Regions from separate parts of the Homo sapiens genome. Here regions 1 and 2 are each linked to region 3. Evidence: promoter capture Hi-C in 16 types of primary human blood cells and fetal thymus (Javierre and others, 2016). All regions are on one chromosome and are shown on one strand. The core of a region is centred on a gene start or on the middle of the fragment in contact, and the rest is flanking DNA. Distances in the headings are between cores, read along the strand shown. Region 1 overlaps C18orf63 (chromosome 18 open reading frame 63). Region 2 has its middle 34 kb from the start of LINC01922. Region 3 holds the start of CNDP1 (carnosine dipeptidase 1).

Region 1 (3,686 bases), core at 273-2,772, 200 kb before region 3:
CCATTTTACTGTTTGGTGCATTGAGATTATAATTGAATCCACAGTTACATGAGGGATATATTTCAGAAAAGCATTATGTAATATTAAACTGTTTGCTTTGAAATTTAATTATATGGAAAATTTGGGAAATGAGTGCCTCGAAACAAATTTCTATTTATTTCGTAGATGGATATTTACTGGGTACTACTATGTATATATGCCAAGTGCTGATGGAAAACACCTTTTCCTCCCAGAATGTTTTATCTAGGTCAGAAGAAAGAAGAGCATGCACACATAAAACTTACCAGAAGAAGGGAACATTTACTGAGTACTGGTTAATATTCACATACCCAGAAAATTCAGTGTAGGCCTAGAATCACATTAAAATTCTCAGATCGGCACTTACTGGCAGTGCCTCTTTGGCATGTTAGTTAATCTCGCAGAATCTCCATTTTTCTTATAAATTGGAGATAATGATATCCCTTCTAGGGTTGTAAGGAGGTTATGGTGTAAAGTACATTAAGGGCCTAGCATAGTACCTGGCAGTAGAGGTTAAAAAATGATAGCTATTGTTATTATTTTATAAATAAGTAAATTAAGACACAAAGCAGTTAAGTAAGTTGCTCTGGATCATAAAGGTAGTAAGAGATTCAGGATCTGAGTTTGTCCTTCAACTCTGTCCTTTCTGCTGTACCATGCTTCCTTCACCTAGCCTTAGGTTTTTTGGTTCAAATTTGTATGTCCCATAGAGCCTTACAGAAATAGAAACCTAATATATGTTAAATAAAAATACATTAAAAAACAATGTTTGTTAATGGAGTATCAAAATTTGTGTTATAGGAACTATGTTACTTGAGGAATTAAGAGAAAAAGAAAATGTCTGAGGGAATCATATGTGAAATCTTTGAAACACTTATAATATTTTTCACACTTTTCTTCTTGAAATAATCTCCTCTCTTGATTTATCTGAAACTGATTTTTCTAGAATCTCCTGGAATTCATTTATCTTCATTCATTTATCATTTTAAATGTTGCTGTTTCTTAGGGTTCCATTTTCAGCCCTCTTTTCCTTAGCAGGCTTACCCATTTCAGTAGCTTCAGCCTATACACCAGTACCTCCCAAATATTCTTGTATAGTTGTAACTTTTCTGTCATCTCTTGGATACTTTCAAATGAATGTACTAATGGCAGTCAGACCCAATTATGTCTAAAACTGAATGTATTTATGTGTCACCTTCCTCAACCCCAAATCTGTTCCCCCTGTGTAATTATTCTTTTCATTAGTGGCATCAGCAGTCAATAATTTACCTACCTAAATACTTCAGAGTTATCCTTGGCTTTCCCTCTTTCTCACTTTCTCTTTCCAGTTAGTCTTTAATAGCCTACTGTGGTCTCTGAAATGGACTCCTCTCTGCCTCCATTTATGTTGCTCTAATTCAGACTCTCTTTTTTTACTTGAACTATTAAACCAGTCTCCATATGGGCCTGTTTCCAGCCTTTCTCCTTCAAGTTTATTATCTAATTTTTCCTTACAATGTCAACAGAGTTCACTTTCTAAAACAAAGGTCCCCAGCCTAAATATCTTTAGTATTTCAACATTGCCTAGAGAAAATTAAGTCTAAATTGTTCAGATTGGCGTTATAAGGAGAAAATAATATTTATTGAATACCTGCTTTTCAGTATGGTTTTAGTCATCATATAAGGGCACTTTATAAATATTTGCTAAATAAAGAAATACAAAGGGTTAGCATTCGCAGTCTCTTGGAGTATATGGTGAACAGCTGGGTGGTTTGCCAGTCTTTAATCTGTGTTGAGAAAGACCAATGTAAACAATAAGTACTGGTACTTACTGAGGTCCCTGCAGCAATCGACTTGAGTCTCTGAATACTGTAGAAAGTACCCAGAGGATGTATACTCAAGCTATATAAGTAGGTGTATGTGGGAACCCATAAACTTTAAACATTTGAACCTGATACCTACCTTCTGTGAATTCAATTTTAAGTTCTGTTTTCTCTCAGTTTAGTCCTCCCTCTGCAACCAGTCTTTTCTGACATTCATAACCATGCCTCCTCTAACCATGTTTTTATCACACATTTCAGGCAACTGATCTCTTAAGCACAGTACATCACAGTGCAAGATTTATCTCTTGTGCACAGGAAAATATGTGTCCTTATTCATTCTGCGTGTCCTTGCTCTTTTACCTCACAACGTAACTAGCATATCTTATCTTCCTCTTCCTGCATTCATGTTTTCTGCTCTTCCCTGCTCCTCCATTTCCATTAGTCTTAATGAATGACATAGGAACTCAGAGAAGGATCAGTCACTGGACATGGAGAAGATGGGTCTAGATCCAGGCATTAGGACCTTATTGGTAGGAGTCCAGGCAATAAAAAGTTGTCCAGTTTAGTTGGACTTCCTTGAAAAGTAGTAGGCAGCGAAGTTAGAACATTGTTTCCCAAAAGATGTTAGGTGGTTGGTTAAGAATGGGGTAAGGGTTTATGAATCATTCTGTCTAATGTTAATATAGTGTCCTTTCACCCATTAATACTTTATTTTTTCACCCTCCTTGAGGTCTCTTTATATCTTTGGCTAACTGGAACAGTGCCTCTCAGGGAGATTTTCCAGGGTAAGAGAGCTGTAATTGGCAAACTCTTGTAGGTTAAATACAAGCCAAAATGCCCTACAGGGAGGACACTTGAGGAACAGGGAAGAAAGTGTTCTAGGAAGCTGGGAGGGGTATAAAAGGAGACTGGAGCATTGGCTCTGTCTTTTCTCCTCCAAAAGACCAGATGGAGGTATAATTCCCTTACTCATCCTCCATTTAAAAAAACAATTGAGGTTAAAAGCTATTATTTTAAAATATGAACACCTTCCTTTGGAAGAGATTCAACTTCCTGCAAATTAACATAATTAAAAAAACCACCTGAAAACCAACTAAAATCACTGCAAAATAGGAGTTTGGGCTTGGATGGTAAGAGGGAAAGCATGAAATACTTCATATATTGTATAAAGGAGAAGCAGGGTGAGCTGCAACTTTGACTACTTATGTAAAGTGGTTATGCATGATTCAATGTAACTTAAGTCTTTAAATCTACTTTATAACCTACTGTGTGTGTGTAACAAATATGTATCTTTTAAAATGTTTCCTTTTTTGCCAAATGATTTGAGGACTTACAAATCTTATTTCTATTAAAAGCTAAAAGAGTTTGAGATTTCCCAGAGTATTATAAAGGATTTTCATGCTAACAAGCATGCTGTCATTGAGAGACATTCCATTTTAAGCAACTGGTGCTACGTTTTGCCAAGGTGAGATTTCAATTTGTAATATCTAGGGTGGGTTCAAAATATGGTGGTTTCCCTTATTTTGCTTTCTTAACATTGATATGTGTAAAAGTATAAACTATTTTGGTGAATTTTAAAATACTGAATTATGACTTCACAAAGGTATTGAAACAATATTGTCATATTTACAAAAGCCATGAATTTTCTTTATCAAATTAATAATTTTATTATATATTCACATCTTATTAGATCTAGTTTCAAAAAAGGTAATATTTCTAAATTTCTCATTATAAAATGAAAACTATCAAAATAATATTAATAAAACCTCATAAACTTATATCTAATAATGATTCATTATAATTTGATATGAGCTGAGTTTTGAGTTTGTACTATTTTCAGGAAAAAATAATTTGTTACTAGTATAA
Region 2 (3,435 bases), core at 131-2,630, 160 kb before region 3:
AATTATTTGTATTATCAAGGAAAAAATCATTCATATTATTGTTTTTTTAAAAAAGGTGGCACGAGGCACGGCATTTTGCCGTCAAGCCAGATAGCTATTTCCTTTTGTTTGATATGTGCAGATACCACAGGAGTGATAGTGTTAAATTTAGGTTAATTCCACTTTGATTTTCTCGTCTTATTCTTACCTTATCTGTTTTATCTCCTTTGTGGCTTTAGGCCTGTTTCACTCAGAGACGTCACGTTATGGCTTGTGCTGTTTCTAGGGCACTAGGTAAGCACCCACATCCTTTTGAACATGCGAAGCTAATACATATGTAACAAACTTGCACGTTGTGCACATGTACCCTAAAACTTAAAGTATAATTAAAAAAAAAAAAAGTAAATAGTCAAGCCAGAAAAGCCTAACAGGAACCTGCCAGATACCTTCACCCCAGTACCGCTCATTAAAGGGGGATGACTTAATGGGAGGACCCTGTACACTTCCAGGGAATCCCAATAACATATTTAACTGAGAAATGATAGTTTTAAGTAACTGAAGCCACAAAAACAGATCTGTTTTCTCAATGATGAATATTTGAGCAACTACTTGAGCTGGGATAAGTGGCTTCTCAGGAACCTCATGAGCCCCCAACAGAATTCAGGGCGGTTATTAAAAAAGAAAGACAAATGGATGCTGGGAGATGCCCAATGTTGACTGCGAACTGTGATCCAGGAATGCTGATCTTCTCAACCTGTAACTACAAATTAAGTGGTCATATTTCCACTAAAATAGGCTTTCATTCATTTGTCAAATAGATGTTAAGCACTCAATAAGTGCCAGAAAGTGTGCAAGGGGACAGATACACAATGTGATATACAAGACGAGACCCAGCTGCTGGGGAAGACAGACAATTAAAGAAATCACGAGCATAGGTTAAATGCCACCACAAAGGAAGTACAATGAGCTAGAACGGAAGCGTATAGCAGGACCCAGCCTTCCAGAAAGAAGAGAAATTCCATGGGTGGGAATTAGCAGGGTGAATTGGAAATAAAAGAGTGGTCAGGCAAGGAAAATGTGTGTGAGATGACCCAGAGAAGACCATGAGAGCTTTAAGGAACTAGAGACATCAGTAAGGCTGAAGTGCAAGGAGAAAGTAGTGGTGAGAGGTGCAGCTGACAAGAAAGAACTGGGAATTTGGGGTTGGAGATGACTTAAGATAGGGGGATCAGGAGGCTGTGACAGCAGGACAGAGGGAAGGAAACTGATTAAGAGTTATTTAGGAAGTACAATTGACAGGATTTACTATTAACTGAATATGGTAAAAGCTTAGATGACTGACCTTAGACTTCTCTTTGCCAATAAAAGCATGAAATGCTATAATCCTCAAATCACTGCTTTAGCTATATCTCACAATTTTGACATGTTATATTTTCATTTTCATTCAGTTTGAAATACTTTCCAATTTCCATTTAGAAGCTTATTAATTTCCAAATATTTGTGGCTTTTCCATATATTATACCTTTCTCTTATTGCTATTTAGTTTTATTCCACTGTGGTTACTATTTTAAATTTATGTAAGCTTATTTTATAGCCTAATGTATGATCTGGTATAGCGAATGTTTTACAAGCACTTATGAAAAATATGTGTTCTGCTGTTGTTGAGTAAAGCCATCTATACATGTCAGTGAGGTCAATTGATTAATACTGTGTTCGAGTCTTCTATATCCTTACTGATTTTTTATCTACTTGTTCTATAAATTATTCAGAAATTAGTTTGATTCCCTTGAGGTTTACTTATAAGCTTTTTGGGGCCTAGAGTAGCCTTTATTCCAGGACTGATTTGACTCCTCTTCTAAGTCATGGCCTTTCTGGGGCTTGTTCTAAATGCCCCATATATTCAGTGAGGTCTCTCTCTCTGGCTGGAGGGAACTTGAGTGATTTTTGGCTTTGCAATTTTAGGGAATTGTTCATTTTAGAACTCCTCACCAGGTGCAGTGGCTCATGCCTGTAATCCCAGTGCTTTGGGAGGCCGAGGCTGGCAGATCACTTGAGGCCAGGAGTTTGAGACCAGCCTGGCCAGCATGGTGAGACTTCATCTCTACTAAAAATATAAAAATTAGCTGGGTGTGGTGGTGGGTGCCTGTAATCCCAGCTACTCAAAAGGATAAGGCATGAGAATCACTTGAACATGGGAGGTGGAGGTTGCAATGAGCTGAGATCATGCCACTGCACTCCAGCCTGGGCGACAGAGTGAGTGAGACTCCATCTCAAAAAAAAAAAAAAAAAGAACTCCTCATAATTACTCTTTCACCAGAAGCTTTTCTTATCTGGCCTTATATTTCTATAGACTTCTGTTTTAAAAAGATTCCATGAACTCATGTGCAGATTTCCGGAGTACTTTTATCTGTGTAGCCCCTTCCCTTGAGAACTCTGCCTCACAGGTTCTTCACAGAGCCGCCTGGCCTTCCCCATCTCTGACCTCTGTCTCTGCAGCTCTGTGAAGCTGCCTCACTTTTTTGGAGTTCTCCCTCCCTGGACTGTAGCCCAGGACTTATCTCTAGGCAGAAAGGCCAGCTGATGGTAGGGCTTACCTTGTCTTCTTCCTTTTTCTCAGGAATCACAGTCTTGTTTTGCCCTATATCCAAATAGTGGCTTTCTATATTTTATCCTTTTTTTATAGTTGCTTACAGAGGGAGGGAGATCACAGGCCGTCTTACTCCCTCATGGCCAGAAGCATGAGATCACTAGCAGATCATTAATGAGATCCAGAGACGATGGAGAAAGCAATGAGTCATGCGCAGTTTTGAGGTTACTGCCATGGGCAAGCAGGTGGATGATGGTCCCATTCACGGAGATGGCAAAATCCAGGGTGATAAACATGGGTAGGGGAGGGCATGAAAGAACTTCATGGGTTTACTGTTGTGTATGTTGGATCTGAGTCACTTGCAAGTCATTAAAGAAGCGAGTAAGCAGTGGAGGTTACAGAACAGCTCCCTCACGAGCTTCCACCTCCTTCTCTTCATTCCACTCTGGGCTGCAGTTGCCATGGACTAGTGACCCCTTCCCAGGGTAATCAGCAGTGGTTATAACCACTTATTTTAGAAGAAAAATTTATTTGTGAAATTTAGTTGGGATAATCCAGCCCCACAGTCTTCCAAATTATTAGGGTGCATGGCCCAGCATTGGTACATTTCCCAAAGGCTGGATTGTCCTTTCTAAACAACACAACAGATGAAACACCAGTAACCTAGTGCAAGTAGCACGGCCCCAAGCCCAGTTCATTCCTTCCCTTTTGCAAGCTGCACGGTCCCAAGCCCAGTTCATTCCTTCCTTTTTGCATAGCACGGCCCCAAGCCCAGTTCATTCCTTCCCTTTTGTAAGTTGCACAGCCCCAAGCCCAGTTCATTCCTTCCCTTTGTTTTTCCCCCGACCTGACCTTAACTTACTTTTCCT
Region 3 (3,645 bases), core at 709-3,208:
TGACTTTGGCTGGGTAGGGGCAAGGTTTTCCACTGATGACTGCAGGCAGCAGGGCCCCCACCCTCCTAGGATCACAGCCCACACCTGGGCCCAGCCTCACCCTCTCCTTCCTTTCCAGCCCTCGGAATTCTGAGTATGATCCCAGCAACTTGGCCTTCGGAAGAAGGGCCAGGCCCACTTCCTGGGAGCTGCTGTGCTGGGCCTGGAGCTCAAGGAGCCCGGCCTGGCAAGTGTCAGGGAAAGGGTGTGAGGATGGGGAGGAGGTGCAGAGACGCAGCTGGTGGAGACGCTGCCCCTCTGCAAGGGAGAGGGGCCCGGCCCTGATAGCCACAGCTAGCCTTAACTAGCAGGGATAATGAGTTCCAACTCTGCCTTTCCAGAGATTTCTTTGTTGGTAAAAATTATTTGATTATTTGTCCTTTCATTCAGCAAACAGTTAGAGTAAGTCTCCAGTGTGCCAATCCCTGCAAGAGTTATTCAGAGAGAAATGATGCAAAAGAATCCCAGTCCCCCAGAAAAGCCCCGGGACCCCTCAACCCAAGGCTCTGGCCTGTGCCCTGCTGCCTCCTTTTCTCTACTGTCCCCTGACCTTCCCACCAAAATTTATATGTTGACATCCTAACCCCCAAGACCTCAGAATGTGACCTTCTATGGAGATAGGGTCATTGCAGATTGAATTACTTATCTTTAGATAAGGTCACATGGGCATAGGATGGACCCCTGATTACACACAACTGTGTCCTTATGAGAAGGGACAATCTGGACACACACACATACACAGGGAGAACATCATAAGAAGATGAGGGCAGAGATCGGGTGATGCTTGTACAAGACAAGGGACACCAAGGACGGCCAGCAGCCACGCGGGTCAAGGCCTGGAGCACGCCCTTCCCGCTCAGCCTCAGGAGAAACCTGCCCTGCCCATACCTTCATCTCAGACTTCCAGTCTCCAGAATTGAGACCGATTTCTGTTGCTTAAGCCACCCAGTGTAGGGTACTTTTGTTAGAGCAGATGTTGGGGCTCAGAAGCCAATACCCCAAAATATGGTGCTTTGTTCAAGCTGAACTGAAAAGGAACTTCAAGGCCTCTCGGCTCCCCCACCCCCACCATCTCTCCCAGAGTTCCTGAAGTGTCCTTATCTCCTTCAAGTCTGACCCACCAAAGAAGAAAGGAATGACCTCTAGTCCCTTCCCTGAGTTTTCGTTAACTGAACCCATATCTCAGGAAGGAAGGCTGACACCGAACACGCTGGACAGACTTGTCAAGACCATTGTCTGCTCCGGGGCCCAGCAGACTTGAACGAAGACCGTGGCGTGCTCTTCAAGCCCACTGAATCCTCCCTCGTGAGCGCTGATTGCCCTCAGCTGAAGTCCTCTTTTCTCCTCCCATAACCTGTTGCGCGAGAATCTAAGCCGCCACTCCTTGTGGAACCTCAAGAGGGTGTCTCAGCTTCCCAACCCCATTAGGGATTGGTCCTTCCTTCTGAAGGCTCCCATGTCACTTAAAACTAGGAGCAAATCAATCTGTTATGCCTCTTCTCCAATTCAACTGCCCTTTGCAAGCTGATTTTGCAGCGAACCTTCAGAGAGCTGGGAAAACTCTACCCTCGGCCCCTGCACAGCCCTAGGAAGCTAATCCTCGGCCGTAACATTCCATCACAAGGGCCCACAGCCACAGTGTGTGGGGGCCTGTCATGTGAGGGGGCTGTCACCTGAGGGGGCTGTGCCGCTGGCTCAGCTCTGCCTGCTGGCCGGGGCCCTACTCCCTCTCAGAGATGACACACAAGTGCCCCCAAAGAAGAACCCGAGGAGTCGCAGGCTGGGCCAGGCTGCTGGCTTCCAGTGACATCACATGACTTTGGGGCCACTGCCTCATCCCGTATCTGCGCGTATGAGATGCATTGTCTCTTCCTCTGCAGTTGAGCTGAATGAATACCTCCGAAGCCGCTTTGTTCTCCAGATGTGAATAGCTCCACTATACCAGCCTCGTCTTCCTTCCGGGGGACAACGTGGGTCAGGGCACAGAGAGATATTTAATGTCACCCTCTTGGGGCTTTCATGGGACTCCCTCTGCCACATTTTTTGGAGGTTGGGAAAGTTGCTAGAGGCTTCAGAACTCCAGCCTAATGGATCCCAAACTCGGGAGAATGGTGAGTAGGACCTCCTCCATCAGAGTCCGTGCATTGGGTGCCAGAATTCCATTTGTCCCGGGAGCATGTGCGTTAAGCCCAGTTGGGCAGGGCAGGCACCCAGCGTGGCCCCAGATGCTGCTCCTCATGGTGTTCTTAGGTGCTGTCTTGGCCGAGGAATGTGGTATTTGGAATTATATTTTATCAGTAATGCTTTTGGGTAGTTGTGTGTTCTTAACAATAATTAAATGGCATTATTGTCAAGTAGTTCATATTCAAATTGTTCATGAACTCAGTCTTCTTAAATCAATTTTTTTCTGTACTTTTTCTCTTTAAAAAAAATGAGTTTGCTTCCTGGAAGAATTTGCCTAAATAATGGTAACAGACAGTGTGCTGTTTGTCCTGGTCCCAGGTTCCCGACTTAAGGGCTAGTTTGCAAGAGCTAATCACCGGGCTAAATCACCCCAGGCCTTTCTCGGCGAGGTTTCCATGGTTCAGGTGCAAACCTGAGTGTGGGTGTGGCGGGAAGGCTTCTCTCTAGGAAAACAAGCAGGCAGGTACCTTTGGCTGTGAGGTTTTGTGGGGTTGTGTTCCAGACTACTTGGAAAGATAAAATTCATGGACGCTTTTTATTTCCATTGCAAACACACACATACACACACAGAAATTTTCAGAATTTTGTGGAAGGTTGATACGTAGAAGACTCTCAAAAGACATACTGAAACAAATACATGCAAATGCGAGGCTGGAGACACAGTGAGCAGGCAGGTGGTGACCTGACCACAGCCGGATTCTAGAAGTGGGCTTTGCCCACCTGCAAGACCATGAGATTCCCACACCATGCTGCAAAATCACTGCTCTGAGAGAAAGAACCTCACCCTGTGGTCTGGCCATGCTTTCCATTGCTGACTTTTTTTTTTTTTTAAAGAACCCATGACTGGCCAGGGCATTGGGGTGGGGGTTAGAAGAGGACATTTCACTGAATACTGTCTTACTTTAAAAAATCTTTAAACTGTGTCATGATAGTATCTATTCAAAACATTAAAGTTAAAAGCAACATGAAAGAAAATAATTTCCCTGGCTGGGCATGGTGGCTTATGTCTGCAATCCCAACACTTTAGGAGGCCAAAGCAGGAGGATCACCTGAGCCCAGGAGTTCAAGACTGGCCTGGGCAACATAGTGAGACCCTGACTCTACAAACAATTTTAAAAGTAGCCAGGCAGGGTGGAGCATGCCTGTGGTCTCAGCTACTCAGGAGACCAAGGTGGGAGGATGGCTTGAACCTGGGAGGTCGAGGCTGCAGTGAGCCATGGTTGCGCCACTGCACTCCAGCCTGGGAGGCAGAGTAAGACCCTGTCTGAAACAAAAAAGAAGGAAATATTTTGTTTTGGACTCAATATAATACCCTTTGATATGAAAGAGAGGAAGAGATTGTACTATATATTTTCCCCTTTGCTATTCTTTTACTTTTTTTTAACTTTTATTTTTGGTTTAGCAGTACATGTGCAGGTTTCT

What was found. Contacts are between HindIII fragments. The CHiCAGO score rates a contact against its expected background, and 5 or more counts as called.
Region 1: a contact is called between a fragment that was not itself captured here and the fragment with the promoter of CNDP1 in region 3, in 1 of 17 cell types (naive CD4 T cells). The highest score is 5.1, in naive CD4 T cells.
Region 2: a fragment that was not itself captured here is called in contact with the fragment with the promoter of CNDP1 in region 3 in 1 of 17 cell types (naive B cells); the score reaches 5.6 in naive B cells.

The regions. Positions count from the first base shown.
Region 1 is chr18:74,335,540-74,339,225 of GRCh38, forward strand. C18orf63 (chromosome 18 open reading frame 63) reads left to right here. Exons shown (of 14, transcript NM_001174123.2): 8 at 3,176-3,285. Among named protein-coding and RNA genes, the nearest start is that of C18orf63, 22 kb to the left of the region's middle. The HindIII fragment of the contact is 4,991 bases long and covers 1-3,686 here.
Region 2 is chr18:74,373,393-74,376,827 of GRCh38, forward strand. No RefSeq gene overlaps it. Among named protein-coding and RNA genes, the nearest start is that of LINC01922, 34 kb to the right of the region's middle. The HindIII fragment of the contact is 151 bases long and covers 1,306-1,456 here.
Region 3 is chr18:74,532,542-74,536,186 of GRCh38, forward strand. CNDP1 (carnosine dipeptidase 1) reads left to right here and starts at 1,959. Exons shown (of 12, transcript NM_032649.6): 1 at 1,959-2,150. The coding sequence starts at 2,127. The HindIII fragment of the contact is 13,353 bases long and covers 1-3,645 here.